Regions from separate parts of the Homo sapiens genome. Here region 2 is linked to region 1. Evidence: promoter capture Hi-C in 16 types of primary human blood cells and fetal thymus (Javierre and others, 2016). All regions are on one chromosome and are shown on one strand. Each heading gives the region's core, a stretch centred on a gene start or on the middle of the fragment in contact. The rest is flanking DNA. Distances are from core to core; before and after follow the strand shown. Region 1 overlaps LOC124901363 (a long non-coding RNA gene). Region 2 holds the start of PM20D2 (peptidase M20 domain containing 2).

Region 1 (3,064 bases), core at 380-2,879:
AACAATGGGATGATGACTCCCTACATTGGTGAGGTCAGATCTTCTTTACTCAGCCTACTTAATCAAATGCTAATCTCTTCCAAGTACACCCTCGCCGACACACCCAGATATAATGTTTTGCCAGCTAGCTGGGTATACCTTAGCCAAATCAAGTTGACACAAAATTAACCATCACAGAGCTCAATCTGAATAAACATATGAATAATGAGCATTTGCTGGTTGCATACCCACCACCCATCAACCATTGCCTGCTTTGCTGTTCCTAAGAGTATTAAGATTTTCCTTCGGGTTAGCATCTCCTCCTCCTCCTTAGAGCCCATGTTTCCAGGAGCCCTCAATCTAAGTTAAACAACGTACAGTCATGCATTGCTTAACTACAGGGATAAGTTTTGAGAAGTGTGTTGATCGGCAATTCCACCATTATGTGAACATCATAGAGTGTACTTATACAAACATTATATACTTATATCATTACAAGATGACATAGCCTACTATACACCTAGGCTATATGGTATACCTAGGTATATAACAGCTATACCTGTTCCTAGGCTACAAGCTGTATAAACCATGTTACTATACTGAATACTGCAGGCAAATGTAACACAATGGTATTTGTGTATCTAAACATAGAAAAGGTACAGTAACGAAACAATATAAAAGATTTAAAAAAATGGTACACCTATATAGGGCACTCACCATAAATGGAGTTTGCAAGACTGGAAGTTACTCTGGGTGAGCCAGTGAGTGACTGGTGAGTGAATGCGAAGGCCTAGAACATTACTGTACACTACTGTAGACTTTATAAACACTGTACTCTTGGGTTACACTAAATTTATTTTTTAAAAGTTTTCTTCAACAATAAATTAACCTTAGCTTATTATAACTCTTTTACTTCATAAACTTTTAAATTTTTTAAAACTTTTTGACTCTTTTGTAATAACACTTAGCTTTAAAACACAAACACACTGAACAGCTGTACAAAAGTATTTTATTTGGATCCTTATTCTATACACTTTTTTCTGTTTATTTATTTTTTTATAGTTTTTAAACGTTTTGGCTAAAAAGTAAGACAAACATATGTTGGCCTAGGTCTACCTACACAGGGTCAGGATCATCAACATCACTATCTTCCACCTCCACATCTTGTCCCACCAGAAAGTCTTCAGGGGCAATAACACGCACGGAGCAGTCATCTCTTATGATAACAATGCCTTCTTCTGGAATACCTCCTGAAGGACCTGCCTGAGGCTGTTTTATAGTTTTTTTATGGAAGTAGGAGTACACTGTAAAATAACAATTAAAAAGTATAGTATAGTAATTATATAAACCAGTAACATAGTTGTTTATCATTATCAATATTATGCACTGCACATAATTGTATTATACTTTTGTATGACTAGCAGCATAAGTTTGTTTACACCAGTATCACCACAAACACGAGTAATGCACTATAAGTAATGTGTCATGCTATGACATTACTATGGCTACAATGTCACTAGCCAATAGGATTTTTTCAGCTTCATTATAATCATATAGGACCACTGTCACATATGAGGTCCATTGACCAAAAAATCGTTATGCAGCGCATGACTGTGTGTATCCTCAAGCATCCTGTTCCCCATCCCTCAAGGGTAAACTTACCAAGGGCTTTTGAAAAAGAATGTTTAACTGCTCTTCTGAGATGGCTACCAAGAGATGCTCTCGGTTGTACTTTGTGATGTGTCATGTGAAAAATGAAACTGCTAGTACATGCATTCTCAATGGAGGCAATAACACCTCCACAGGGGGCAAAAACTGGAGAGAGAAAAAATCTTACTCTTTTTACATAGAAAGCACAAATATACATACAATACATAAATAGATATACAGTGTATCTGAGGTATTAAAACTTTGAGGAGGGGCATTAAGATGTCTAAAAAGGCTCCTTAAAAGAACAATAATGAAAAAAAAGATTGAAAAACACTATTGTAGAATATAGCAAATACCACAAAAGGCAGAAGAGAATAATGGAAACTCAATTATTGATGTTATCATCAAGCCTATGATGGAAATATGGAACACTTGTCTGACATATATATGACCCAGAACATTAAAGTGGTGTTACTTTAGTCCCAGTTTCTGCTAAGCCTCCATTAAAATAGGTCCCAGATATCCCTACACCCAAAATGAGCCAAATAAGATCAGAATCTCATTTAGAACAAGCAAAGAGGTGGTGGGAAATGGATTTTGAAACCCTTGTCCTCTCAACCCCTGGAGAGTATAAAAGGGCCAAAATTGAAGACAGAGTTGGAAGTTAGAGAGTAGTTATTAGGGTGCTGACATGAGGGAGAATGGTGGAGGGTGCTCAAACTCGGAGGGACTTCAAGGAATTTACTTAAATAGTTTTGATATGTATCCGGAAACGTGTGGAGACACACAGACTGGTGACTGAAGTTGACATGAAATTCTGAGGTCAAGTTTCTATCCTTAATTCATGAAAGTTAAAGGAAATGCAAAGTCAAAATTGAAGTGAACTGAGAGAGGTTCAGCTCCCCTCCATCATTCCTCTGCATTTAAACTTTATTACTTAGGATTATTTGGTTACAAGTGACAAAAATACAACTTGGACCAGCTTAAATGAAATGGTAATTTACTAGCTCACATAACCAAATCACAGAATGTAAGAGATGGATTGGACCTTGGGAATGACTGAACCCAGAGACATAAACACTGATGAAACTTTCCATCTATTACTAGAAGCTAGGGAAAAGGCGCAGGCAGACAAAAAAGAAAAAAGTAATCTGCAAGCAAGTTGGACAAAAATTGATTTTAGACTGGCATCAATATTAGAAGTCCAAATCAGTGGATAAAACATAGAAGTGTTGGGGTAGAAGATATTCAAAATCATGTAATCAATTCACTTTGAAATGCATCTAGCAAAATGGTAGATGGATGTAAATATGGATGGAGAGATGAGATGCACATATGTATATTATGATAAAGCAAGTATAGTAAAATGTTAAAGGTAGAATCCTGGTGGTGGGCATATAGGTGTTCACCATAAATTCTTTCAACTTTTCTCTAT
Region 2 (3,299 bases), core at 634-3,133, 1.4 Mb after region 1:
ACAGTGCTCAAACTCTGACATGAAGCCGCCGCTCTTTTTTTTTTTAAGAGGAGGCCTCGCTCTGTTGCCCAGGATGGAGTGCAGTGGCGCGATGTCGGCTCACTGCAACCTCTGCCTCCTGGGTTCAAGCGATTCTCCTGCCTCAGCCTCCCGAGTAGCTGGGATTACAGGCGTGAGCCACCACGCCCAGCTAATTTTTTTTTTTTTAATATATTTTAGTAGAGACAGAGGTTTCACCATGTTGGCCAGGCGGGTCTCGAACTCCAGACCTCAACTGATCTGCCCACCGCTCTTCATTCTTGACCCTTAACTCATTAAATACGATATGTCTCTCGCTGACTACTCAGAACCTTTAAAAACGTGGTTGAAGCGAAATCTCTCCAGTGTTTGTGACATGGCAAAGCATGCTTCCCCCAACCCAAACAAAAACCTAACAAATGCAAAAACGAGCCTCCAGAGACAGAAAAAAGAAGGCAGCTAAAGTGAAAAAGCCACAAAAGATGTAGTGTTAGGATAAAAGAGGAAGGTTACTGACACTGGGGGAAATGAACTAAAGAGTATGAAAATAAAACATTTGTTTTCCCCTTAACTGAATGACGATTGAATCTTAGCTCATAGTGTAGAATATACCATCTGGAAAAGCAGAGTAAAACAGGATTAAACTTGCCCTACGACAAACATAAACGACATTTCCCTGTTTAAAGAGTCGAGGTATTTCTTAAAATCATAAAACAAAAAAATTAAGACTTAAGGATGAACTCATCTATGTATAATGCTCATTCACTTCCCCTTTATTTGTATACTTCTAGGGGTCTGGTGGTTCTAGCGACTGAAAATTCCTATCCAAATACCAATGACTTGAATCACATTTTCTAGGACTGCCACAAACAAAAGATTTATTTGGAGACGAATAAAAAGGGGCCGTAGGATTACCTACAAGAAGTTATTTCCTCCTGAGATTGATGGCACAACCTTGTCAGCAAATTGCTGTTGCCTCTCTCAGTTACCAAAAATAACCCGTAACAAACACCAGGCTTGGGTGTAAGTTCTTTCCTAAGGGAACAACTCAGCAGAGCTGTTTATAACTAGAGAGGAGGAAACAATAATCTGCAAGATGTCGCCAGGTCGGCAACGCGAACTGACTTTGACTGGGGGTTCAGCTCTGCTCCTGCGCCGAGGCGAGGACCGCAGGTTTAGCGCGGTCCCACACACACCTGCCCCGGGCGGGAGGGCACCGAGGCGCGCGGGACGCACGAGAGTCCCGCCCTTCCCGGGTCGCCCCCGACCCGGGCAGTCGGATAGGGTCCCGCACCCGGGCCCCACCTCACCTTCACGGGCGGAGGCGGCCTGGGGAGGCCCTCTAAGGCCCCCCTCACGCCCAGCGCGGCCGCCGCCCCGACCTCAGCGATGAGGTTGTGGCCGCAGGCGTGGCCGATGCCGGGCAGCGCGTCGTACTCGCAGAGGAAGCCCAGGTGCAGCGGGCGTGGCGTGGCGCTCGGTGCCCGGGCCTCCGGCGGCTCCCACTCGGCGCGGAAGGCCGTGGGCAGCTGGTAGTGCGGCTGCACTGCCCAGGAGGCCGCGGGCGGCTCCCGCTCGAAGAAGTGCGTCAGCACGCGGTGGGCATGGTGCTCCTCGTAGGCCAGCTCGGGCTGGCTCCAGATCGCGCGGCTCAGGGCCCCCAGCCGCTCGGCCGCCTCGTCGATGCACTCCGCCGAGCGCAGCTTCAGTAGCTCCAGCTCGGAGCGGCCATTGCACGCGCCCCCTTCCACGGGCCGCTCCCCTCCGGGCCTCATGCTGCCCAAGCCCGCTGCCCTCTGCGCCCTCTCGCTCCCTGGCTCGGCCGCAGGTAGCGACCGCCCGCGCACGCGCCCAGAGGCCTCCAGGACCCCGGCGGAGCGCGCACGCGGCCACACAGCTCCCAGGGCACCACCCCCAGTCCCGGGGCCGCCCCCGGCGCCGCGCGGGAAACGCTGGCGGCCGCTCGTACCCTACCAGGCGCTCTGCCCCGCCGTGGGGTTTTGGGGGTGCTGTGGAGAAGGCAGGGCTCGGGACTCTTCCACCTCCTTGGCTGCTCTGGCCTTTGAGTTATGCTCTAAGATTATCGATTACTTTTCCGTTGTTGCTTATTTCCCACAGCAGCAGAATGAGAACGGTTATTAGTTAATAGCCATCAGAGACAGACCAAGTGGAACACAGTCCTCGGAAAAACGCCACTCTGTAGCATTAGTAATTAAAACCTCACAAGGTTTGTATTTCCTGAAGGAGGCCGTCAGTGTCAATGCTGTACTAACGACGGTACTGTACGTAAGTTTCGGTACTGCCCCCACTTTCTTCTCCTTGACATTGTATTACTAAAAGCTGCAGCTACTCTCTACAGTTTTCTCATTGGTTACTAATGTCTGGAACAGCAGCTAGATTATGCAGTAAGCTCTTGGTATGTATTAGCTATTATATAATAATTTATTTGAATAGAGTAGAACTAAAAATTTGAAATGAGTTAAAACCAAAGAGTTAAAAGATTTATGGTAGTAAATATTCATACTGTTTTGTTGATTTGGACAGTTGTCTTGAACAGCTTTGAAAGGGAACATATGACAGGTTTCGTTTATAATTTTAATTGATGCTGAACTCCACTAACATGATATGTGCAGCTGGTGTTACATTATAACTGAGTTTTTTAATTACCCAGTGAAGAAATTCAAGATGTCATGCTCTTGTTTTTCTCCAGAGTGAACCACAAAGTCTGAAAAACTGTTGTTGACGGTATGCCTATTAATAACACTGTAGATGTTTATATTCTGAGGTTTTCCACATATTAAAAGCTTCTATCAGCTCTTCATACCCTATCATCTTTCCTTAATTTGTCTCAACTATGTTAAATGGGACACAATATATTAATGTGATAAACCAAATGAATATTTTGAAAATAAGTCTAAGGGAAGCTAACATGCACGAAGACTATCAACTACTGTTTTTACTACTCTATATGCTAATAATACCAGAGTAAATGTCACATTCCATTCACGTCTGAAAACTTTCTTTCTCAGTTAACACTCCAACAAAAACTCAGCTCTAAAAACAACAAATGTGTTATTAAATTCCTGGGCCCCCTTGGCGATAATAAATCTTTCTCTGGTATTCTGCTGAAGAAAATTACCCTGTATCCACGAGATCCAATATTATCCTGCTCAGTTAGTTGGCTAAAAAAAGGGGAGAAGGGGGGATTGGAGAGCAAAAGCAATAGGTGACATTTGTAGAGCAATTACTCTGTGCTAGGCACTGTTCCAAGGGCTTAGCAT

What was found. Contacts are between HindIII fragments. The CHiCAGO score rates a contact against its expected background, and 5 or more counts as called.
Region 2: a contact is called between the fragment with the promoter of PM20D2 here and a fragment that was not itself captured in region 1, in 6 of 17 cell types (activated CD4 T cells, naive CD8 T cells, non-activated CD4 T cells and 3 more). The highest score is 10.4, in activated CD4 T cells.

The regions. Positions count from the first base shown.
Region 1 is chr6:90,588,867-90,591,930 of GRCh38, reverse strand. LOC124901363 (a long non-coding RNA gene) reads right to left here. Exons shown (of 2, transcript XR_007059680.1): 2 at 972-1,283. Among named protein-coding and RNA genes, the nearest start is that of MAP3K7, 3.3 kb to the right of the region's middle. The HindIII fragment of the contact is 5,597 bases long and covers 1-3,064 here.
Region 2 is chr6:89,144,639-89,147,937 of GRCh38, reverse strand. PM20D2 (peptidase M20 domain containing 2) reads right to left here and starts at 1,883. Exons shown (of 7, transcript NM_001010853.3): 1 at 1,329-1,883. The coding sequence starts at 1,793. LOC101929004 (a long non-coding RNA gene) reads left to right here and starts at 1,072. Exons shown (of 4, transcript XR_942766.4): 1 at 1,072-2,245. RefSeq lists a silencer at 1,137-2,066. The HindIII fragment of the contact is 3,355 bases long and covers 1-2,824 here.